7 separate regions of the Homo sapiens genome follow, and regions 1, 2, 4, 5, 6 and 7 are each linked to region 3. The links are contacts of gene promoters, found by promoter capture Hi-C in blood cells and fetal thymus (Javierre and others, 2016). All regions are on one chromosome and are shown on one strand. Each heading gives the region's core, a stretch centred on a gene start or on the middle of the fragment in contact. The rest is flanking DNA. Distances are from core to core; before and after follow the strand shown. Region 1 overlaps KLHL31 (kelch like family member 31). Region 2 overlaps GCLC-AS1 (GCLC antisense RNA 1). Region 3 holds the start of GCM1 (glial cells missing transcription factor 1). Region 4 overlaps GCLC (glutamate-cysteine ligase catalytic subunit). Region 5 has its middle 12 kb from the start of LINC01564. Region 6 overlaps GCLC-AS1 (GCLC antisense RNA 1). Region 7 overlaps GCLC (glutamate-cysteine ligase catalytic subunit).

Evidence for each region. The method cuts DNA at HindIII sites, captures the fragments that hold promoters and counts their contacts. A CHiCAGO score of 5 or more calls a contact.
Region 1: a contact is called between a fragment that was not itself captured here and the fragment with the promoter of GCM1 in region 3, in 2 of 17 cell types (monocytes and naive B cells). The highest score is 5.3, in monocytes.
Region 2: a fragment that was not itself captured here is called in contact with the fragment with the promoter of GCM1 in region 3 in 12 of 17 cell types (non-activated CD4 T cells, naive CD8 T cells, activated CD4 T cells and 9 more); the score reaches 12.0 in non-activated CD4 T cells.
Region 4: a contact is called between a fragment that was not itself captured here and the fragment with the promoter of GCM1 in region 3, in 8 of 17 cell types (naive B cells, total B cells, neutrophils and 5 more). The highest score is 10.1, in naive B cells.
Region 5: a contact is called between a fragment that was not itself captured here and the fragment with the promoter of GCM1 in region 3, in 1 of 17 cell types (neutrophils). The highest score is 5.7, in neutrophils.
Region 6: a contact is called between a fragment that was not itself captured here and the fragment with the promoter of GCM1 in region 3, in 17 of 17 cell types (total CD4 T cells, monocytes, neutrophils and 14 more). The highest score is 22.4, in total CD4 T cells.
Region 7: a fragment that was not itself captured here is called in contact with the fragment with the promoter of GCM1 in region 3 in 5 of 17 cell types (naive B cells, total B cells, M1 macrophages and 2 more); the score reaches 7.6 in naive B cells.

Annotation. Positions count from the first base shown.
Region 1 is chr6:53,654,875-53,658,172 of GRCh38, forward strand. It overlaps KLHL31 (kelch like family member 31), which reads right to left. Exons shown (of 3, transcript NM_001003760.5): 2 at 1-431. The coding sequence starts at 398. Among named protein-coding and RNA genes, the nearest start is that of KLHL31, 9.2 kb to the right of the region's middle. The HindIII fragment of the contact is 4,902 bases long and covers 1-3,298 here.
Region 2 is chr6:53,461,175-53,464,591 of GRCh38, forward strand. The region is part of intron 2 of GCLC-AS1 (GCLC antisense RNA 1); the gene reads left to right. Among named protein-coding and RNA genes, the nearest start is that of GCLC-AS1, 31 kb to the left of the region's middle. The HindIII fragment of the contact is 2,648 bases long and covers 260-2,907 here.
Region 3 is chr6:53,147,037-53,150,392 of GRCh38, forward strand. It overlaps GCM1 (glial cells missing transcription factor 1), which reads right to left and starts at 1,805. Exons shown (of 6, transcript NM_003643.4): 1 at 1,718-1,805. It also overlaps the pseudogene LOC124901513. The HindIII fragment of the contact is 12,096 bases long and covers 347-3,356 here.
Region 4 is chr6:53,498,131-53,501,446 of GRCh38, forward strand. It overlaps GCLC (glutamate-cysteine ligase catalytic subunit), which reads right to left. Exons shown (of 16, transcript NM_001498.4): 13 at 2,302-2,383; 14 at 2,117-2,220; 15 at 1,915-2,035; 16 at 1-837. The coding sequence ends at 626. The region is part of intron 3 of GCLC-AS1 (GCLC antisense RNA 1); the gene reads left to right. Among named protein-coding and RNA genes, the nearest start is that of GCLC, 45 kb to the right of the region's middle. The HindIII fragment of the contact is 4,037 bases long and covers 45-3,316 here.
Region 5 is chr6:53,638,876-53,642,186 of GRCh38, forward strand. No RefSeq gene overlaps it. Among named protein-coding and RNA genes, the nearest start is that of LINC01564, 12 kb to the left of the region's middle. The HindIII fragment of the contact is 4,667 bases long and covers 1-3,311 here.
Region 6 is chr6:53,479,498-53,483,215 of GRCh38, forward strand. The region is part of intron 3 of GCLC-AS1 (GCLC antisense RNA 1); the gene reads left to right. Among named protein-coding and RNA genes, the nearest start is that of GCLC-AS1, 50 kb to the left of the region's middle. The HindIII fragment of the contact is 4,576 bases long and covers 1-3,718 here.
Region 7 is chr6:53,521,518-53,525,280 of GRCh38, forward strand. It overlaps GCLC (glutamate-cysteine ligase catalytic subunit), which reads right to left. Exons shown (of 16, transcript NM_001498.4): 2 at 898-1,010. Among named protein-coding and RNA genes, the nearest start is that of GCLC, 22 kb to the right of the region's middle. The HindIII fragment of the contact is 1,081 bases long and covers 1,760-2,840 here.

The DNA.
Region 1 (3,298 bases), core at 557-3,056, 510 kb after region 3:
AGCTTTCCAGTGTAGGCATATGCAATGACAGTGGCCAGGCCTAGTGGTGAGATATCATTGAGATCCACCCTCTGAATTGACGGGTCTTTTTTTAGGATGTTGTAAAAATACTCACTGCATGAAGCCATGACTGACTTATGAACATCAAAGGATTTGGTTTTGGTACCAATGACTAAGTCACATAGGAAGTTCTCCTGCCGCATTTTACTTAAACCTTCCAAGAGGTTGGGGCCATAAGAAGCATCTGTTAGTTCAGAAGAAATGCAGCTAAGGCCATTGCCTCCCTCTAGGAGCCCATTCAAAGCATTCAGTTTGTTTAGGGGGCTATCTTCTACGATTATAGTCATCTCATTGATATCTCCTTTGTTCTTTTTGACAATCTTCTTTTTGGGTGCCATGTTGGCAAATACACTGTTACAGGCAAGAGCTTGCTAAAAAGAGAAAAAAAAAAACATGGTTTTGTTTTAATTGTGCTTTAGACTTTGAAATACTACATTGAGAAACTTTTTCAAAAGATAATAGTTTTCATGGCATAAAATAGATTAATTTTTAAAATAGATTTAAAGACATATTAAACTAGATGTACATTTTACAGACAGTTTACTTCAGCATGAAGCATTGAAGACAATTCTAGGAAGATTTATGTTATCAAATGAAATCTCTCCATAACTGTATTGCCAAGTAATTATATAGAAAAAGTGACCACATTTTCTTTCTTTCTTTTTTCTTTTTTTCTTTTTTTTTTTTTTTGAGACAGAGCCTCTATCTGTCGCTCAGGCTGGAGTGCAGTGGCATGATCTCAGCTCACTGCAACCTCTGCCTCCCGGGTTCAAGCTATTCTTCTGCCTCAGCCTCCCAAGTAGCTGGGACTACAGGTGTGCACCACCATGCCCAGGTAATTTTTGTATTTTTGGTAGAGATGGGTTTTTACCATGTTGGCCAGACTGGTCTCGAACTCCTGGCCTCAAGTGATCTGCCCACCTCAGCCTCCCAAAGTGTTGGGATTACAGATGTGAGCCACTATACCCAACCAACATTTTCTGATTGAGCTATATAGTAGAATAGTAGTTAAATATCATTTAAAGGGCTTAGTTTACTGTCATGAAAAAGTGAATTATAAACACTCTGAAGATTTTCCTCAGTAAAATACTAAAATTCAGGAATACATGTGAAATGTAGAAAATATTATGGAAAGATTATTTTATTTGCAGTAGCAATGAAACCTGTTATATTTTAAGAGATATATATACTTGACTCTAATTTAGTGAGACACATATAAGTACTATAGGATTTTGCCAGAGGATTTAACAGACAGGGACTCTACATTCCTGTATGAAGAGATGGATGTCATTTCAGTGAAATTTTAGTTGCTACCTCTATAAGATATTTTTTCTTTTTGGAACTTAATAAAATGATTTCAGAGTTTAACTGAGGGAGTGAGTATAAAAGAACATCTAGGAATTTTGTTTAAAAATAAAGGAATTCTTACCAGATGCAAAAAATTAGAGGAACTAAAAATTTTGGATCAGGAATAAAAAGAAATTCAGTGGAATAAGATAAGAGGTAGAAACCTATAAATTCAGAAGAACAAAATAAAGGGTAGAAACCCATATATGTATATGTGTGTATGTGTGTGTAGATATATACAGTATATATGTGTGTGCATATTTATATATTTATATAGTGTATGTGTGTGTAAGTATATATATTAAGATAAATGTGGCACTTAAAAATCAATGAGAAAGAACTTGTAATGGCAGCATTAGGTCAACTGATTTGCTACTCTATATATTCACTAAAATAACTTCCAGATGAATTAAATATCTAAGTAACATACACACATACACAAACTTATATAAGACCAGAACAAGCTAGGGATCTTGTTTTTGTTTTTGTTTTTATAACTTAGGTTAGGGAAGGCCCTTCTCAGCTGACACAAAATCCAGAAGCTATAAAAGAAAAGACTGAAATATCAGAATATAGAAAAATAAAAGCCATGAAACAAAACTGACTCCTTAAAAGGCAAGCAACAGACTGGGAAAACAAGTATTTTTAACTTTTTTTTTTTTTTTTTTTGAGATCGGGTCTCATTCTATCACCCAGGCTAGAGTGTAGTGGTGTGATTTTGGTTCACTGCAGCCTTGACTTCCAGGACTCAAGCAGTCCTCCCACCTCAGCCTCCTGAATAGCTGGGGCTACAGGTGCATGACACTATCTATGCCTGTCTACCTTTTTTGTATTTTTTGAAAAGAATGGGTTTCACCATGTTGCCCAGGCTGGTCTCAAACTCCTGGGCTCAAGCAATCCACCTGTCTTGGCCTCCCAAAGTGCTAGGATTACAGGCATGAGCCACCTTGCCCAGCCTAATCTGATGATTTCTTTGGTGCAAATACTCTCATCATGACTGATTTCAAGCTATCAACTGCTTAACAATTAGTTTACCAAATTTCTGAAAATTCATCAATCAGCTCTTGTGAGCCAGTGCAAGCCAGCTCCAACATAACACTATAGAAAACTTATATCAAACAGGTTTATGCTAATTATTCAACAATTTTCTCTTTTCACTAGTAGTAATTCATGTACACCTTTCTATAGCAGTACATGTATAAATCCACCTCATTCCTTATAATCGGTGCATAGTAATGCATAGTAAGGGTATATCATACATTGTTCAACTATTATCCTGTTGATAAGCATTTATGTATTTAGGTGGTTTACAATTTTTTGTTTTTGTTTTGTGTGTGTGTGTGTGTGTGTGTGTGTGTGTGTGTGTGTGTGTGTTTTAAATCCCATTGTAATTTCATCCTGAGGGGTAAAACTCAGCTTTGGCTCTCCTTGAAGGGTTTTCAATTTGATGGGTGGTGTATGTGTTAAAGTAATTTTGTAGCCCTTCTATTGTATTTGCTCCTGTTCCTATCCATGCAGAAGAAGAGTAGCAGGTAGGCAGAAAATAGAGATGGTCTAATTCTTTTCCAGTGCTTTTGTTTTCCTCTTTAAGCTCCAATTATCATATTCACATTTATATTTTTTACAAGGCTGTAGCACATACATCCTTCTTCTCATTCTTTTTTTGCAAACAATGCAAAATGCATCCTTACCTTGTGAAAATAGATTATGAACCCTCTATCATTTTAATGCTCAAATGCATTAGCTTATGTGTTGAGTGTCTCTTTGTTGGATTTTCTGGGAGAAACTTTTGAATATTTGTCAGCAAGCAGTTATCAGATATCCATCTTGGTGTGGGCAGCCCAGTGCTGGGAATGATGGAGCAGTACAAGATGTAATTTATATTAGAGAC
Region 2 (3,417 bases), core at 334-2,833, 310 kb after region 3:
CTCTCCTGAGAGAACTGCCACAACTTTCATTACTAGTATTCACTTCTTCCACCATGGGATTGTCACTCATTAGAGACATGTAGTTGCTGTGCCCCTTAAGGAAGCCCCTTATGGCTGAAAGCAGGTGGTTCCAAAGCCTGTCCTACACTTGCTTCTCCCTCACATCTTATGAGCCAGACCACTAGATCCCACAGAAGAAAAGGATCAGGGAGGTAATTTTTCTACAGAAAAGCACTGGATTCGCATAAGTGATATATCAAGCTTCTAATGTCCTTTTTATCTTTTATTTGAATAATCATTTGTATAACTTTCCCATCTGTGTGTACATTTTAAACAAATGAAGCAGCTTCCTCTCACTAACATGTTTTCTCTTCCTTAAAATGACATCCTCTTCTAATTTACTCAACCCTAAAAACCCCCTCTTCAAATACATTTTCTCTGTTGGTTTCATGCATCTCAGAGAAAGGAAAAAAGGGTTCATTTTAGTAAATAAGCCCTGGCTTTAAAAATGCTCTTACCATTTCACACTCCAGAAAATAAGGAGATGAACACACACACACACACACACACAAACTAATTAGAATTAACTAAATTTTATAATATATTAAGTAATAAAATTACAATGCAAAACCATTGCAGCGTCCTTTTGATTGCTCTGAACTCCACCCCTCCCTGTCAAACAATAGAAAGGGGAAAGTGCTTTAAACTCTCACTAGGGTGGGGCTGCTGCCTGCCGCCTGCTCTCCGAACTGTCTTGCAGCTGGAGAAGAGCAGCCAAAGCTCCTGCAGACTTCATGTTGGAACTTCACACATTCATTCCAACAAAGAACACAGCACGTAGCAGGAGAACATACTGCGCTTATTCTTCTTAGTATAAGGGCAGATAACCTCTCTATTTTTATCTTTACCTTCATTGAAACAAAAACAAGTAAATGGAAGAGCAGACGCCTCTTCATAAAGCTAGTCATTGTCCTATTCCTCTGTTCTATTCACTCTCAAACGATTCCATTGGGGACCCCTGAGCTGTGAAGAAGGACAGGGCCCTGCCTCCACTTTTTCATCTTTCTCCTTAACTCGGGGAAGTCTGGCTTTTACTTCCAACCGCTCAACTGACACTGTCTTTCAAAGTTTACCAATATCTAGGGTGGCCAAATGGGGATGCTTCTGAGGGTGAAAAAAAGATGCTACTAATAATTATCCTGGGACAACAGGCGTAAATGCAAACAGTCTCATCAAGAACCTCCCATCTGTATCCAAACCTCTCTTCCCAGCATCTTTCTGGAGCTTCCACAGCATTTAACACGGTCCCCATCCCTGCTTTTTGGAATCTTTGTTTCCACTAATCTTTAACACTTCAACTGTCCTTCTTTACTCGAAGGCCAGCTCAGAGCTTCTTTGCTGGTTCCTATCTCCTCCATTGATTGAAAAAGTTCCCAGATTGATTGCTTGGTTCTCCTGTTTGTCTCTAGATTTCTCCTCACAGACCTGCATTCTCATGACTTCAGCTCTCCCTGCATCATGACTCCCAAGTCATTTCAAAGTGAAATTATTGTCCAGGTCGGTGGCTTATGCCTGTAATCCCAGAACTTTGGGAGGCTGAGGCCAGCAGATCACTTGAGCTCAGGAGTTTGAGACCAGCCTGGGCAGCATAGCCAGAACTTGTCTCTGGTAAAACAAACAAACAAAGAAATAAACAAAAACGAAATTATTAGGAACTCTAAGACAGCAACAGCAGATTATTAAATCCCAAACCTGGGCCTCCTTCTGATCACAGAGCCCTGCACCTGGCCACATGCCCATGTAACCGACTCTGCCATTAGTTAAATGACTAAATAAGTATATAGTACATTCTTTCAAAAAGCAGTAAAAGGAAATAAGAAAATGGCATAAAAGAGAGAGAAAGTAGGCCAGACATAGTGGCTCACACCTGTAATCCCAGCACTTTGGGAGGCCAAGGCAGGCAGATCACGAGGTCAGGAGTTCGAGACCAGCCTGGCCAACATAGTGAAACCCCATCTCTACTAAAAACACACACAAAAAAATTAGCCAAGTGTGGTGGCACATGCCTATAGTCCCAGCTATTCTGGAGGCTGAGGTGGGAGGATCGCTTGAACCCAGGAGGCAAAGGTTGCAGTGAGCCGAGATCGCGCCATTGCACTCCAGCCTGGGTGACAGAGTGAGACTCTGTCTCAAAAACAATAAAAATAAAAATAAAAAAATAAAAAGGGAGAAAGAGAAAGGAGTAGGGTGAAGCAAAGGGGTTTCAGGGTCTGGGATTACAGAGGGGAGGGGTCTTGAAAGGAAGAGTCCTTGAAAAGACTGGTTGGTGGGAAAAGGCCTAAGGCAGGCGCTCAGGTAAAGGGTCTAATCTCAGAGAAGAGCCACACTTCTTCACGAAGGCTAGAGAATGGAGACAATGAGCATAGAAGCAGCATGGTGAGAGCTACGAGACTTCATCATGGATAGCAGAGGGATATCAGCAGAAGCATTTGTTGTTTTTTGTTTTTTTTTGTTTTTGTTTTCGTTTTTTGAGACCAACTCTCACTCTGTTGCCCAGGCTGGAGTGCAGTGGTGTGATCTCAGCTCACTGCATCCTCTGCCTCCTGGGTTCAAGCGATTCTCCTGCCTCAGCCTCCTGAGTAGCTGGAACTATAGGCACGCACCACCACGCCCGGCTAATTTTTGTATTTTTAGTAGAGATAGGGTTTCACCATGTTGGCAGGCTGTTATTGAACTCCCAACCTCAAATGGTCCTCCCACTTTGGCCTCCCAAAGTGCTAGAATTATAGGCGCGAGCCACCACGCCAGGCCTGAAGTATTTAAGACACAATGAGATGTTGCTTCGTCTCTTTATCTAATTACTGTGGTGCACAATAAAGTGAATCAGACCTGTCAGTGTCTCCAGAAAGCTTACAGTTCCAGAAGAGACAAAACACCAATATGAAATTTAGGACAAAATATGATGAGTGAGTTGGAAAACCTCATTTAGTTAAACTAAGCTTCCTAGAAATATCTTCCTGCTAAATATTTGTTAACTTGGCTTAATACAGAAGGAAAACACAAAATAATATAAATAGCATGGTAGAAATGACATGGTACATTGCATTAGGCATTATAAGTAATCTAGAGATGAATTAAAGTATATAGGAGGATGTGCAAAGCTTATATGCAAATACTACACCATTTTATACCAGGGACTTGAACATCTGTGGATTTTGGTATCTGCAGATGATCCTGGAGCCAATCCCCAATGAATACTGAGGGACAACTCTGTATACACACATACAAATACATGCACATGTGCATATATACACATTTATACATACACACACACGCATGCACACTCACACATATAGACATGCACATATCATTTGAGTCAAATCTACATGAACCTTACCTAGAGTTTTCTGTTTATTC
Region 3 (3,356 bases), core at 555-3,054:
AAATAAATAAATGAATGAATGAATAAATAAATAAATGAATGAATAAATAAAAGTTTGTTCAAATGGCATTTCTTCCCTCACGAGAAATAGTGCTCTAATTTCTAACTATAATTGGTTAAAGGAGGTTTACCAAGAAAAAAAGAAAGAAAATTTGAAGTGTTCTACCCTGAGGAAAAAAATGAATAATTTTGCAGATGAAAGCTACTTGTTAGTACGATATGAAGTGAAACATGTTCACATGTATAACATTTCATTTATTGGTACTCTTATAAAAACAAGAGACATAATGATGTTATGTAGAGCTATTTAATAGCGAACTCAAACTATAAGGTAGATTAATAGTCTAAGCTTTGGCGAGACCCATGAACTCTTTTCTTTAGTTTTTATTGTTTTTTTTTTTTTTTTTTTTTTAATGGAGTCTTACTCTTATCACCCAGGCTGGAGTGCAGTGGCGCAATCTCAGCTCACCATAGCCTCCACCTCTGGGGCTCCAGTGATTCTTTTACCTCAGCCTCCCAAGTAGCTGGGATTACAGGCACGCACCACCACACCCAGCTAATTTTTGTATTTTCAGTAGAGATGGGGTTTCACCATGTTGACCAGGCCGGTCTTGAACTCCTTTCCTCAGGTGATCCATACGTCTCTGTCTCCCAAAGTGCTGGGATTACAGGCATGAGCCACTGTGCCCGGCCTGTTCTTTAGTTATTTAGTGTTATATAATCCTAATACTTGTCAATCACTGAACTCTACCAAGGGAAAGTGTATGTATATAAAAGACCGTTGACCTGAACATAAGAATGAAGTTCCTTTTTTCTTTTTTGTGTGTGCTCTAGATGTCCAGAGAAATTTCTCTAGTAACAAACTATAGAAATGATCCCTGAAAGTATAGTCTTTATAAATAAAGTTCTTGACCATTAAATGACAAGCTAATCAGAGTCTCTTCCTGTCTGTTCCACATACCCATACTGAGCTACAACCTAGTGGTTGCAGAGCACGAAGTTTCTGTTCCCCAACTGAATGTTGATTTTCAAGACTAAATCCTCATGGATTTTAAGTAAAATTCTATGTTTAGGAAAGAAACATTGTGTTACTGAAGAAATGATGCCGCAAATTGACTCTAATTCAAAGGACTTAAATAACAGGTATAGAAGATGCAGATACCAAGCAGCAGTTCCGTGTACTTACCCTGAACAGTAACGATATTGTCTCTGATGGTGCAAATTTTGTTATAACTAATTGGAATAGATCTACTTTTTAAAAACCTTGGCAAATAAGATTCATATTTTCAAAAATCAAAAACATTGTTATAAAGCCTAGGCAATATAGACATAATTATTTTGTTTTTAAATTAAGGGAAGAATAATAAAGAAAATTTTATTACAGAACAACTATGTTACATTTTAGATTTTTCTCTCGATATTAACATTTGCTAAGCGAATGAGCATTAATTTAATATTTCCCTAAAAGTTAAGAACAAAACATAGAAAAGAAGAAAAAACCATTTTACAGCCCTTAAGTAAACTCTGTTTTCCTCTTCTAGGATTGAAAAACTACACTTGTCAAGACTCCTTTTTTTAAAGCAACTTGCGCAAAGTATATTCAATTTTCATCATTTCTACAGAAAAATGAACTAGAACAAATGAAACCCTGTAGGAATAGAGTGGTCGTTGCCACATCCCTTACATTTGCCTCTCCACGGGATTTCTGGCTTTCTTACCTTCTAACTTCTTACGGAGAAGCAGACAGCACTGTGTCGTGAAAATCTTACTGCTGGTTCAAGTCCCAGCAGGCTCTGGTCATTTTCTGAGCAGACGCTGTTCCCTATTCCAGGTCAGGGTACACTATGCTAATGAGTTCTGGCAATGGTCCAATCAAAATCTAGATGCTCTAGGCTCTGGATAGGTAAGAGCAGCCTGGGAGTCACTTAACCAGCCTGATTCTTCCCAGAATGCCAGCAATGTGATGAATATTCTATGATGTGTCTCTGAACTTCCCCCTCCCTTTATGTTATGAGGACATTTGAACTAAAATGGACATTGAAAAGAACCTCATAAGGAAGTACAGATGTTTTTCTTCTTGTGATGTTACAGGTTGGGCCCCAGGCAGACGATTCACAGTAGGTCCTAATTCTCCCACTATTTACCCGGCAGGTAATAGTTCTCTCTCATGTGTGCAAGAGAGAGAAGACAGACAGACAGAGATAGAGAGATATTATGGTGAGGAAATTTACTGGAATAGACAGTGGATAGCCAACATCCTCTATACCAGAAATACTGAAATGCTATCTTAACCCTAGCAATAATGTCCCACTAATTCTAAGTGTTCTGATCCCCTAAAAATATACAATTCTTGGCCGGGCGTGGTGGCTCACACCTGTAATCCTAGCACTTTGGGAGGCCGATGTGGGCGGATCACAAGGTTGGGAGTTCAAAACCAGCCTGGCCAAGATGGTGAAACCCCGTCTCTACTAGAAATACAAAAATTAGCCAGGTGTGGTGGCGAGCGCCTGTAATCCCAGCTATTTGGGAGACTGAGGCAGAGAATTGCTTGAACCCGGGAAGCGGAGGTTGCGTGAGCTGAGATTGCGTCACTGCAGTCAAGCCTGGGTGACAGAGCGAGGCTCCATCTCAAAAAAACAAAAACAAAACAAAACAAAACAACAAAAAAAAACGAACAAACAAAAACCAATTATTTCTTCTAGAGATACCCTCAGTGCTATTCTTCCTTTTAGAGACATCCGCAGTACAGCCTAAATCAGTTCAGTTCATATGTTTTGTTCTAGGTAGTCTGCCAGGCCTTGGCAACACAAGAGAGAATGAAAGCCATTAAGAAGTTCATTCTAGTAGAAAAGATGATTAAAGCTACTAAATAAGGCCGATTTAATTTGATGTATAGAATAAAAGTAATATAAATGAGAAGGCTATTAAGCTGGAGGGAGGAGAACCAAAGGAAACCCACCAAAATAATGCTCGATGAGCCTTTTGAAGGACAAATAGATATTTATCAAGGCGTGAAGGACTGGAAGAGGGTGTTTCGGGGAGTGACAATATCCTGGACAACATGACGAGGGATCAGTACCTGTCAGGAAGGTCCAGACTTTCAAGGATGAGGCTTAGGAGGCAGAGATGAGAAGGCGAGAAGGCAAAAGGCTTGGAAAGCCTCATAGTTGCATTCGGCGGCCCCTAATAGATTTCTCATTCGTCTTTCAGTTCATGAACAAATTCCTTTCCTGCCTGAAGTTTAAGACCCTGCTTCATCTTTTTTTTTTTTTGAAACGGAGTTTTGCTCTTGTTGCCCAGGCTGGAGTGTAATTGCACTATCTCGGCTCACCACAACCTCTGCCTCCCGAGTTCAGG
Region 4 (3,316 bases), core at 813-3,312, 350 kb after region 3:
GATAACAGCCATCAGAGTTCAATGGGTATTTATTCAGAGGGGAAAGCTTGGGGCAAGGTGACCAAGTGATTATTCCAATTGCAAAAGAAACATCATAGATAAGGTGCTAGAAACCCAAGATTACCCTTGAAGCACTTTCAATGGATTCAAGTGATTTAATGTAGACAACAAAGGAAATGACAAAGGAAAATTAACGAGAGAAAATGTTTTTAAAGAGAAAAATTTCAATAAATCAGGTCCCAGGTAGTCTTTAAAAGAACAAAAATTTACAGTAAACATTTTAACTCTGGAATGCAAGTATTGTACAATTACCAGTACATTTACAAAACTGCTTAGACAGTAGGTTGCTCCAGAGTAAGAATTTAAAAATGTACAAGCCAGTTCATGATGACTTTAGATATGTTATTAAAATACATTGTTAATCAAAAATACTTTACTATGTACATGTACACTGTATAAACTCTAGATTTACCTACCAAAGAAAGCCTTAATCAATTTCTGGCTCACTGGCCCAGAAAACAGTACAGTTCTATCATTTGGTCTTCATATTATACACACGGGCTGGCTGAGAGGCATGGTACTGTAGCCAGTTCGTCAATAATGCATTTTTCTTTCTGTAGAATGTCTAGTTGGATGAGTCAGTTTTACTTCCACTATATTTTACTTTCCTAAATGCTGATCCAAGTAACTCTGGGCATTCACATAATTCATTTGCAATTTGGTTACACTTCAAAATAAGGCTATAATTCATTTCATCAGTTATGACACTGTCTTGCTTGTAGTCAGGATGGTTTGCGATAAACTCCCTCATCCATCTGGCAACTGTCATTAGTTCTCCTGTGGGCGAGGGGGGAGCGAAAAAAAAATTAAAACCACGTAAGTTTTTTTTTTAATAAGTTGATATTTAGTGGTCAGCATAAACACAATTCTGGAGAGAAATCAATATGTCCTTTTAGTGTAGCTGCATGGCAGGGGGTGGGAACATCTTTCATAGCGTTTGAAGAACTCCTCCTGGGCAGGAATTCTAGGTTGCAGGCAGGCAATGAGAACACATACATCCAGTTTCTATGGTACCTGTTAGATGCCACCCATATGCTGACACTGCCAGCTCTTAAGGAACAGGAGCCAGCACATGTGTACAAGAACATGTGCCCTCCCATTTGGCCAGAGGGCTAGGACTACAAATGCCAGTGTCATGAGACTGCCTCAGAGGACTGTAGGGTCCTTGAGCGATCTTTGATCAAAGAGGTGGAGAGAATAAAGAACAGTAAGTAGAGTGAATGAAGTGGGAAATTGGCAGTATACCATTTGAGGGGTGAGGTAGGGTTCTACGGCTATCCTTTGTGACTCCAGAAAGTTTACAGAAGCCTTGAGTTAAATACAGATGCCATTACCATTATTGCTGTCACTTTATTAACAGCTGACAGCTCCCTTGTGCCAAGTACTGTGTTAGCAGTACTTGGTTACTGTACTGTATTGTAAATGTAACCTCCTCAAAACTAACAAAGAAAGGGGATTCTCAGGAGCCTCACTGTATGTACAAAGGCAGGCTAAAGAACTGTTCAGCTTATTTAACTTACAGAGTTCCTTAGCCCTATAAAAGGGCCCATGATGATGTAAGATCAACACAGTTGGACGTAAATGATAAGTAAGCAATCCAGATGCCATTTCATCATCTAAGATGCCAGTGATTTTCAGATGCACCCCTATTTTATGAACTGATAAGAAAAAAAGCACTACTAATCTAAATTATGAGTGTCAAAGATTATAAGGTGAATACAATTGCAGAAATATAAAAATGTGAAACTGTGCATGAATACAGCATTATTTTAAAAGACTACTTTAAGAAATTGAACATTCTAAGATTATACCATGCTGTCTATATTATGAGATTAAGAAAAATAGATATCATACCAGATGCTCTCTTCTTAATTAGCTTTAGGTAGTTCAGAATACTACATCTGGTGTCCACATCCACTTCCATGTTTTCAAGGTAAGAGTTCAGAATTGGGATCAGTCCAGGAAACACACCTTCCTACAAGAAGCAGGACACTTTATGAACTCCCTGCCGGGGGATGTGCACAGTGAGGGGTACTGTACAGGGCCACCCTCCTACCTTCCCATTGATGATGGTGTCTATGCTCATGAGGGTGTACTCCTCTGCAGCGAGCTCCGTGCTGTTCTGGGCCTTGCCACAACCATCCACCACTGCATTGCCACCTGCCGGAGAAGAGGGTCAGGGGAGCTTTAGCAGCTTGTTGCAGCATAAGCTGACATTAGAAATCTAAGATAATGTAATACCTTTGCAAATATCTTTCCTGAAATAAAACATTCCCTGCAAGACAGCATCTCTTTTCTGTGCTACCTTCATGTTCTCATCAACCTAAGGGAAAAAAAGAATCACGACTAAGTCAAAATATTCTTGATCAGACATACAAGTTGCAGCACCTTCCTCACCTTTGCAATTAGGACTCATTCCCTTAGGGATTCTACTTTCTGCTCAAATGCTTCCCAGTGGGAGGAACAGGCTTTTTATTTATGTGAGGACTGTATCACTCAATCATGGATTGGTATGTGATTTTTCAACCAATCAGGGAATTTTAAGAGAAACTTAAAACCCAAAACTTATATTCATGTGGAACGTCTGCATTTCAAAGCACCTCTGTGACTGAGCCTTGCAACAGATATACAGTGTTGGGAGGGCAGGTGGCTGGTTCCCTTTATATAGCAGTGTCTCACCAGGAGTCCCAGGGTAACGAAGGCAGAAGGCAGGACTAGAACCCAGTTCTTCTTCTGTTTTTTTGAGATGGAGTCTCGCTCTGTTGCCCAGGTTGGAGTGCAGTGGTGCAATCTCATCTCACCCCAACCTCTGTCTCCTGGGTTCAAGCAATTCTTTGTGCCTCAGCCTCCCAAGCAGCTGGGATTACAGGCCTGCACCACCACACTCGGCTAATTTTTTTGTATTTTTAGTAGAGACGGGGTTTCACCATGTTGGCCAGGCTGGTTTCGAACTCCTGACCTCAAGTGATCTGCCCGCTTCAGACTCCCAAAGTGCTGGGATTACAGGCGTGAGCCACCGCGCCCGGCCTATAACCCGGTTCTTCTAAGTTGAGTGCTCTTCCCCTGCTGCCTCGCCATTGGGGTTTTGCCTCCCCACTTTAGTGAGGAAAGGCAAAGACAGTTCATAGGTTGTCATATCTGGAATAAGGTTACAGCCCTCCCAAGGGCAGAAGATCACTGCTGTTTTACCCATCTGGTGCCTCCGGACATGTAGACTCACTCATGAAACCGAAAACTGTTTTATTTGTGAATTCTC
Region 5 (3,311 bases), core at 486-2,985, 490 kb after region 3:
GCACCACTGTCATTTCTACATGGTGCTCTGGGTACTATGTGTGTAAAGGAAGTCTGAAGACAAGCACTGGAGCTCAAATCCTCATTCAGCCATGCTACCTTGGGCTTCTTACTTCACGCTCTTCAGTCTCCTGCAATCCTGGAGTAATAATGCATGCCCCAGCTTATTCTTCAAAGAAATCAGGAAGCCAAAGAGGGGACAAATGTGCAGAGCTTCAGAAGAAATGTGCCATGGGACTCTAAGGAATCACATAGTTTTATTACTCTGATTAATTTCCTATTTTAATGCATAGTAGTAATTAATATTGGCCACAGACAACTCAAGATAGAAATGTCATGACCTAGATGAATGTGTAGAATACCCTGGTGTTTTCAGAGTGTTTTCACCTACATTATCTAGTTTAATCTTTACAACTGTCCTATGAAATAAGCAGGGTGGTTATGATTCATTGTTATGTTTACAAATGTGGAAACTGAGGCCCAAACCATTTGTTTAGCATATGTTGGATCTAGGTACAAAATTCCAGTCTTCCAATTCCCAGTTTAAACTGCTTTCCAAAGGCCACAGAAGAGGCAATTAGGTCATAGCACTTGCTAAATTTCTCGGCAAAATTCGAGAGGCAAGGGTATAGACTTTATTATACTGCTTTCTGAACACAGTACACAATCCGCAATAATCCCGAATTTCTAAATCTGTAAAAAAAAAATCGACTCAGAATTTTTCCCTTGCTTTAACTCCTCCAGAGAGAATCTTTCTGCAGCAATCCCATGAGGCTCTGTGCATATCCCTGTAATTACAGGTATTACATCATAGAGCAATAATTTGTTTACATGTCTGTTTCCCCAGCCTCTCCTTCTTCACTTCCCCCTACTCCCAGAGACAGTGAGAAAAGGTCTATTCATCTTTGGAACTCCAGCATCTCACAGGTTGCTAGACATAACAAAAGTTCAAGAAATTTATCTATCTATCTATCTATCTATCTATCTATCTATCTATCTATCTATCTAGACTCCTGTACATCCACAGCCACAGAAGTTTGCCTGCATTATCTCTACTTAAAAGTCATTATGTTTCTTTTAAGTTGAACTCCTGTTATTTAATTGATGCTACATTTGTTGTTGTTGAGGCTTGATAGTATTATAATTTCTAAGGTAGTGTTTTTAAAATCTAGGTAATACAATTATAGAATAGTTTTCCATATATATGATATATATGGAAAATATTTTATTTCACTGCATAAAACAAAACCACTTAAACAGCAAAGAATACACTAAATGAAGTAACAAAGGTTAAAAATAAATTACAAAATAAAAAACAAATGATTGCAAAATGTCAACTCCCCTAAATTAATATATGCATTTAAATCTAGCCTACTAAAAATATTACAAAGTTTAGTTGACAGTGTTGTTATTGTTTAAGATTTTAAAAAATGTATATATGTGCATTGTTTTTAAAAACAATCAAAATGTATTGAAGAAAATATTAATTTATCGTATTGATTTCTAATAACAGCTCATAGAATATAGAAATGGTCTTGATTCTTTCAAACGTCTCCACCTGGTCATGTCAAAGTTCAATGATCATTTAAATAATGATGGACTTTCTATTTCACTAAAGATACAAATTTTTTTTTTTTTTTGAGACAAGGTCTCACGGGTTGCCCAGGCTGGAGTGTAATTGTGCAATCAGGACTCACTGTAGTCTTGGCTTCATAGGTTCAGGTGATTCACCCACCTCAGCCTCCCAAGTAGCTGGGACTACAGGCATGCACCACCATGCCTGGCTAATTTTTTGTAGAGACAGGGTTTTGCTATGTTGCTCAGGCTAGTCTTGAACTCCTGGACTCAAGTGATCCTCCACCTCAGCCTCCCAGAGTGCTGGGTTTATAGGCATGGGCCACTATGCCTGGCTAAAAATACAATATTTATGTGATCTAATTCTGTAGGGTCCACTGAAGTAGAAGTAATGTATTTATAAAAATAGTATTTAAAGCATTATATTTTAAAAATACTATCTTAAAAATTATAACTTTATCAAACCTCAATAAGAGGAAATATAGCATCAATTAAATGATAGCAGTCCAACTAAAAAGAGATAAAACAACTTTTAAGGAGAGAGAACACAGGCAAATCTGTGGTGGTGGATATGCAAAAGTTCATTGCTTTGAAAATGGAATCAAACTGCATGTGACCCTAAATTCCCGAGTACGGTTGAAGAGCAGGGACATGCGTGTTCTACTGCTGCTAGACAAATCACCACAGTTTAGTGTATTATAGCAGCACATGTTTATTATCTCATAGCTCTGTAGGTCAGAAGTCTGGGTTGGCTTGACTGGTTTCTCTGCTTCAGGTTTCACCAGGCTATAATCTGTGTTGACAGCATGGGTTATAGGGAGATTCACTCAAATTGTGGGCACAATCCAGTTTCTTGTAGTTGTAGGACTGAGGTATCCATTTCCTTGCTGGCTGTCACCTGGGAACTTCTATTAGCTTTGAGAGGCCTCTTTTTAGCTTTGTATCTGGGCAACTGTATCTCAGAGCCAGTGATTGCACATCAAATCCATCTCACACTTGAAAGCTCTTAGATTTCCTCTTCTGCTGCACGTCTGACTTTAGCTGGAAAAACTTCTCTGCTTTTAAGGGCTCAAGTGATTAGACTGGCCCCATCTGGTTAATCCAGGATAATCTCTGCACCTTGAGATCCACAACCTTAATTACAAAAAGTCCCTCTTGCCATGTAGAATAACATATGCACAGGACCCAGAGAATAGGGTATTGGACCTGTGGGGAAGGGGTGGCATTAATTGGCCTACTAGGAGGCTACTTGGGAAACCTGGATTTAAACTCTGCTTTAGCCAATTTTAGTCTTTCTATTTTCTTAGCTCCTTGAGCTTCTTTCTTCTTAGTCAAGAGAGCTGATAAAAAGAAGTTGTTCCTTGCAATTCTTTCTTCAAGTCTTTATTCATCTTCCTGTAGGAGTTGTGTTTTCCATTTATATTGGTGATGTATTCCTATGTTTCAAAAAGTTTATTCTCTATTTCTAAGAGGTAAACTATCTCCTAAATTGATTTTCTGCCAAGTTTCATGACATATTCTCTGTGTGTGTGTGTGTGTGTGTGTGTGTGTGTGTGTGTGTGTGTGTGACAGAATCTTGTTCTGTCACTCAGGCTGGAGTGCCATGGTGCCATCTCCGCTCACCGCAACCTCCACCTCCTGGGTTCAAGTGATTCTCTTGCCTCGGCCTTCTGAGTAGCTGGGATTACAGGCACACGCCACCACACCTGGCTAATTTTTGTATTTTTAGTCAAGACA
Region 6 (3,718 bases), core at 877-3,376, 330 kb after region 3:
TTTTAATTTTTTTTGGGGGTGGGTGGGGGCGGGTCGAATCTCACTCTGTGGCCCGGGCTGGAGTGCAGTGGCATGATCTCGGCTCACTGTGACCTCCACCTCCTGGGTTCAAGTGATTCTCTGCCTCAGCCTCCTGAGTAGCTGGGATTACAGGCACTCGCCACCACATCCAGCTAATTTTTGTATTTTTAGTAGAGACGGGGTTTCACCACGTTGGCCAGGCTGGTCTTGAACTCCTGACCTCAAGTGATCCTCCTGCTTCGACCTCTCAAAGTGCTGGGATTACAGGCATGAGCCATCGTGCCCGGCTTAGCTTTCCATTTTCTTGATGATGTTTTGCTATGAGTTTTATATCAACTTAAAGTTTACAGTAGTCTTTTGAATTTTTTTTAAGGATAATTTTTTAAAACTGCACTCAGCTAGAAAAATAGCTAGCATTTATTGAGTGCTTACTATTCTATAAGCACTATCTTAAATGCTTGACTTGTACTAGTTCTTTTATCCTCACAACTCTGTAAGTGCTATTATTACCATCCCTACTTTGCATACGAAGAAACTAAGGCATAAGCAGGTTAGGTAACTTCCCCAAGGTCACATAGTTAAAGTCAAGCAATCAGATGCCAGAGACCTTGTTCCTTGAGCTCTATGTTCTACTGCCTCCTGTCCTTATTTGTGCCTTTTTCTCTCTATTCATGATCAATCATTTTATATGTTTATCAGGGAAAATGACTAAGAAGCAGGGAGTCTTTTTTTACTATACTTTAAGTTCTGGGGTACATGTGCAGAACGTGCAGGTTTGTTACATAGGTATACACGTGCCATGGTAGTTTGCTGCACCCATCAACCCATCACCTACATTAGGTATTTCTCCTAATACTATCCCTCCCCTGGTCCGCCCAACCCCTGACAGGCCCCAGTGTGTGATGTTCCCCTCCCTGTGTCCATGTATTCTCATTGTTCAGCTCCCACTTATGAGTGAGAACATGTGGTGTTTGGTTTTCTGTTCTTGTGTTAGTTTGCTGAGAATGATGGTTTCCAGCTTTATCCATGTCCCTGCAAAGGACATGAACTCATCCTTTTTATGGTTGCATAGTATTCCATGGTGTATATGTGCCACATTTTCTTTATCCAGTCTATCGTTGATGGGCATTTGGGTTTGTTCCATGTCTTTGCTATTGTGAATAGTGCCGCAATAAACATGTGTGCATGTGTCTTTATAGTAGAATGATTTATAATCCTTGGGGTATATACCCAGTAATGGGATCGCTGGGTCAAATGGTATTTCTCGTTCTAGATCCTTGAGGAATCGCCACACTGTCTTCCACATGGTTGAACTAATTTACACCCCCACCAACAGTGTAAAAGCAGTCCTATTTCTCCATATCCTCTCCAGCATCTGTGGTGTCCTGACTTTAATGATCACCATTCTAACTGGCGTGAGATGGTATCTCATTGTGGTTTTGATTTGCATTTCTCTAATGACCAGTGATGATGAGCTTTTTTTCATATGTTCGTTGGCTGCATAAATGTCTTCTTTTGAGAAGTGTCTGTTCATATCCTTTGCACACTTTTTGATGGGGTTTTTTTCTTGTAAATTTGTTTCAGTTCTTTGTAGATTCTAGATACTAGCCCTTTGTCAAGTGAGTAGGTTGCAAAAATTTTCTCCCATTCTGTAGGTTGCCTGTTCACTGTGATGATAGTTTCTTTTGCTGTGCAGAAGCTCTTTAGTTTAATTAGATCTCATTTATCAATTTTGGCTTTTGTTGCCGTTGCTTTTGGTGTTTTAGTCATGAAGTCTTTGCCCATGCCTATGTCCTGAATGGTATTGCCTAGGTTTTCTTCCAGGGTTTTTATGGTTTTAGGTCTTACATTTAAGTCTTTAATCTATCTTGAATTAATTTTTGTATAAAGTGTAAGGAAGGGGTCCAGTTTCAGTTTTAAGAAGCAGGGAGTCTTTGCAAGCTCAAGGTAGGATCTTTGTCAAACAGGAAATATGGTATTATGCAGCAGTGAAACGAGGTCAGTTCTGAGTCCTCAGTCTAGGTTACAGGAACAAAGTTAAGAGTTTGTTCTTATGAGGAATAGAACTGAGTATGTCTCTAGGTCAAGAAAAACACTGTGGCAAAAATGAGAACATTGAGCAACTAATTCAAAATTTCATATGGAACAGTTTCAATAACCATCGGGTAAATGACTTCTTATGGTGAGTGTGCTCAGAAGTGCTCACTAATACTGGTTGATTGAGAGTGATATTTACAATACCAAACAGTCATGTCATTAATAGTATAACAACTTTTTCTTACCAGGGGCTTTTTTGAGCCAGTAAAGGAGAGGATCTTCCCTAGGATTTTTGTTTGTTTTTAAGACTAGCAATGTGCTAACTGCATCCCTTCTACATCCATGAAAGAGAATGCACCCTAGGCTCTCTAGACCAAACTCAGGCATGCTTTACTTGTGGCGTGCATTCAAAAGGAGGAGAACATGGTGAAAATGTCTTGAACATCATTCTAGTAACCATAGTGATACCAAAGCAAACCTGGATCCTTATCTCATATCTTGTTTATTTTTCAGAAAGAATTTATTTACACATAGACCTTTAATTTTGAAAAAGATGCCCCTCTTTGTTATTTGATTGTGTAAGTGATGTTTTGTTGGCCTTGCTTCACAGCAAGTCTCTGTAATACCTCGGTATGTTGCCAGTGGCTGTCTCTGTCCTCACAAACAAATGTTCCATACTTGTCTGACCTGGGCAGCCAGGCTATGGGGTCCAAGGAAGGATAGAACACCTGGAAAGTGACAGCAATGTTTTTGGGGTCAGAACTCTCAAAGTGGAAAAGTTATTCAAGATCCAGCTGCAGAATGAATGAGCACGTTCTCTGCTTTTAAAAAAAAGTTTTATTTTTTAAAAAGAAGTAATAAAGCTGGGCATGGTGGTGCTCTCCTGTAGTCCCAGTTGCTCAGGAGGCTGAGATGGGAGGATTGCTTAAGCCCAGGAGTTTGAGACTAGCCTAAGCAATACAGTGAGACTCCATCTCTAAAAAAACAAAACAAAACAAAAAACAAAAACAAAAAAAGAAAGAAAGAAAAGAAAAAGGAGTAATAAAGAGAGATATTGGTGCCTCACTGCTCTAAAGGGCTTTGAGGAAACAGTTCTAGGCTCTCCACAGAATTTGGAAATGCATCCTGGGGGGGTGGACTGTGAAAAACATCTGAGACATAAGCTCTATGTGACACTTGGTGGGTACTCATGAACATTCAGGGTTCTTGAGGGCCTGAACTGCTTGTTTTGGTAGCCTTGCATTTTCAGGGCAACAATCCCTGGCATCGAGTGGACCCTCAAGAAATATTTGTTAGCTGCCAGATGCAACTTTCCGCTGTATTGTCAACACTTTTTCAAAACACGTCACTGAGGATTTCAGTAACTTCCCAGCAGCTACAAGGAATCTTGGGAACCTTTTCTCTAGGCAGAGCAGGCTATTTAATACCCCATTTGTAATAGGGTGATTTAAAGATACTTTGAAAGCCAATCTAAGAAAAGACATTTCTCCGATGGTGCCTGAAGTTCGATGCATAGAGGTTTTTCTTTCTGTTACCCTCACTAAGTTCTTTGAAAATGCCTACAGAAGGGGTGTTCATATCAGGCCCTTGTGCTTCACGAGAATAAGTTGATCGGGTAAAAATTTTCTCCATAAGAGAGACCACTATTGGGAGGGGGCAG
Region 7 (3,763 bases), core at 1,050-3,549, 370 kb after region 3:
ACTCTGCAGAGAAGGAGATGAGGCCTTAAGGGTTCTTTCAATTCAGTGCTGCCCTCCAAACTCAAATGCAGCTTCCCCAAAACGAATGAGTGGAAAATGAGCAGAGGAGTATATATTCCCCTCCCCTCCCCGTCTCTGTCTACTTAAATGTAGGAATACCTTAAAAACACACCAGGCCGGGTGCGGTGGCTCATGCTTGTAATCCCAGCACTTTGGGAGGCTGAGGCGGGCAGATCATGAGGTCAGGAAATGGAGACCATCCTGGCTAACACGGTGAAACCCCCGTCTCTACTAAAAATACAAAAAATTAGCCAGGCGTGGTGGCGGGCGCCTGTAGTCCCAGCTACTCGGGAGGGTGAGGCAGGAGAATGGCGTGAAGCCAGGAGGTGGAGCTTGCAGTGAGCTGAGATCGTGCCACTGCACTCCAGCCCGGACGACAGAGTGAGACTCCGTCTCAAAAAAAAATCATGCCAGCCAAACAAAGCCAAACAAAGCCCATCTGCAACTTATATCTTGCATCATGGTTTGTGATCCCAGTTATACGCTTCTGCAATACATTTTTTCCCAAAAATGTTTTAATAAAAAACAGGCTTTATATTTAGTTTACTGTACAAAGTGCTTCATATATTAATGTATTTAATTCCAACACCTTAGGTAGGTATTGCTATGATCTTTACTTTACAGATGAGAGAACTGAGGCACAGAAAAGTTAAGTAACTTGCCCAAGGTTATTCAGCTATTGAGTAAAGGAACCATGATTTGAAACTATGGCAACCTGAAACCAGAGCCTGTACTCTTAACTGTTAGGCTATCCTGCCTCCAATAATTGAGAAAAAACTCTATATTCTAGAAGTTTTAGCAGTTTCAGAAACACTAAATCAGCACATGAGAGCTTACTTTGGGTTTGTCCTTTCCCCCTTCTCTTGCAGAGTTTCAAGAACTTTCTCCCCAGACAGGACCAACCGGACTTTTTTATTTTCATGATCAAAAGATACCAACATGTATTCCACCTATTGAAAATAAAGGTGAGAAAAATTAACATTCTTCCAGACTTGTTTTCAGTGTGGCCTCCAGAAGAAAAAGGCAGGGAAACGTGAAGTCTGTAAAGGATCCACAGTAACTCCAGACAGTCACATTTGTTTACAGTACAGCACATAAGTGTTCATATGCATAATATGGAAACCTGTAGAAAGGATCAGTCAGTAGTGCCACTTCCATCCCTTCTTTCCTCTGTCCTACTTAATATCCTATGGAAAGGTCGATACCCATTTTGACAAGCTGTACTTCAAAAAAAAGATGTGTTTTGAAGCAAAGATTCTGTAAATTGCTGTTGTAAAAAAGAAGCTGCATTTTAAAATTTATTTCCTCAGTTGGCTTACTATAAGTTTAAGAAAGAGGTTATCTGGACATTCCAGTCAAGGTAGATTACACTTACTTACTGGCAGAGTAATAAGTAAGGTAGATTACACTTTCATAATCCCACTACCAGTCCCACTTTTGGAGAGTTAAATCATAATCATAAATATACCGTGTGGAGAAGTTATTTGAGGGGTTTCAACAATTTAATTTTGGTTTATCTCAAGTAATTTAAGGCAACTTCTCCACTCTGAAACCATATAAAATTTGCAATGCAGGGTGCACTAGTACATTTATTAACAATACCTCGTGGAATTCTAGTAAAAATAAAGGACATAAACACAAAGTCAGACTTCTGGGCAGAATACAACTAGAACCTACTTTTGTTTTTCCTGAAGTTACAAGCTTTCAATCATGACAGTTGGCGTGAGCAGTGAAGATTATGAATCACTGTGTGTGATGGAAACAAAACATCCATTATCCATATATAAGTGAAAAGATACAGAATTATTCAGGCAAGCCCTTGAAAGTACCCTTTGCACATGGCACCAATACAATTACTACAGAGGTAGGAAACTGATTCCTCACAAGGCAAACCAGGCTACAGTGTATTTGGTTTGGCCTACAATAGTAGTTTAGAAAAAATAAAAAGGCAGGCAACCGTATATCCACTATTTCCCAGATATTTCACATGTAAATCTAGGTTCTCAGTCTTAAAACAATACCCAGAAGCCCAGCACGAAGCCTGTGACTGTGTGACTGGGCTGTTTGCTTTTCAGGGGTGCACACTGTCTGCAGTTTATTCCCTTATTTATGTGTATTTCCCTGGTCTTGGAAGGCATTTGAGTCAGCCGTCCTCATCACAGAAACATTAAGGGCTAAGTAATATGATTATAAAGAGGAAAAAAATGTTAGTAACTGTAGGAGATAGCCTAGCAGATTTAAACAACAACAAAATAAACTTTCAGTTAACGTTTATTAGCTCTCATCAGAATCTTTTAGCTCAAGAAATGGAAAAGTCTGCTTGATTTGGGTACACGAACCAGAAACATGAGATCTCCACCTGCAGAATCACTCAGTGTCAGCTGACTAAAAACTAGGCTGCAGAATCTGGAACTGTTCGCAACAACAATTACAGGTTGCAAGATACCATCTATAGATCTGTGACTCCGGAACAGCTAAAACCTGGAAACAGAAAACTTGGTTGAGTCTCAGAATGGGTATGTGAAAAGATACAAGTTAATCTTTAAATAAGCATAATGAGAAAGGATATGCTTTCATATATGAATCCTAATCTTCAAACCCAGCATGCAAAAGCAGGCTTGATTACCCATTTCACAGGTGGGCAAAGGGGCTCAGAGAGGTAAGCTACTCAAGGCCACAAGTGTCAGGCAGAGATTTGAAGCCAGCCCCGTCTGGCCTCAAGGCCCAGCACACCTTGCTGCTAGGGCTGTAGAGGGTGCCAATCTTGGTAAGTGAAGATAAGCTTTTTATAAAATTGTTATAACCTATATGAAGCAGGGAAAAGTTATAATACTGGATGAAACTATCTCAAATTGATTATGCTTTCATTTCATGGAAGGGGTCCTAACATTATATCATGGAAGCTGGGCTGTAACAATAGTTACAGTCATAGATTTTAACAGATGAACTGGCCCATCCCTCAGGCCCAGGACGGAACCCACTTACTCTGTGTAGCATTCCTAACTCTCCCAGCTAGGAGGAAATGTTCCTTCTTCAGTACTTCCTCCTTCACTCACTTAGACTCCAACTCATCTGCCTGGCATCTGCTACTGGAATTAAGTTATTTGCTTAACTAGAAAACATGCTTCCTAAAGAAAGTCTAAGAGATACTTCCTTGCTTACTGAGTGCATCATTTATTTTTTACCAAATGAGCAAGAACTTGTAGCAATTATATAAACTAAGTTGCAATAACTTTAATTGTTAGTTTCCTAACTTTGAAAAAAATTGAAATCCTTAGTTTTCAAATTCACTCTTAGCCCACAAGTTTAAAACATGGGTAGGGCAAAAGAACAAAAAGTTAAAGCTCATTCTGAGTTTTAAATATCAGTTTTAAATGCCAAACGGATGACATTTAAAATGTTAACAAACCAAACTCTCCTCAATTAAAGTATAATCACTTCATGATCTCATTAAGCAAATGAAACAGAAAAACATCAGAATATTTACCAAATGAGAAAGAAAACCAAATTTACTTTTCAATAGAATAATCATCAGTTGGAAGCCTCAAGAATTTCCTGACGGTTTTTCAAACTAAAATGTAATGCCTTCTGAAGTGCTCCTTCTCTGCAGTCACCTTGAACTTTCTGCACTAGTCCTCAAAGAGGTTCTTCAAACTTTTAGCTTTTTGTTAAACACCCCCACCACCTCAACACATTTATGTTT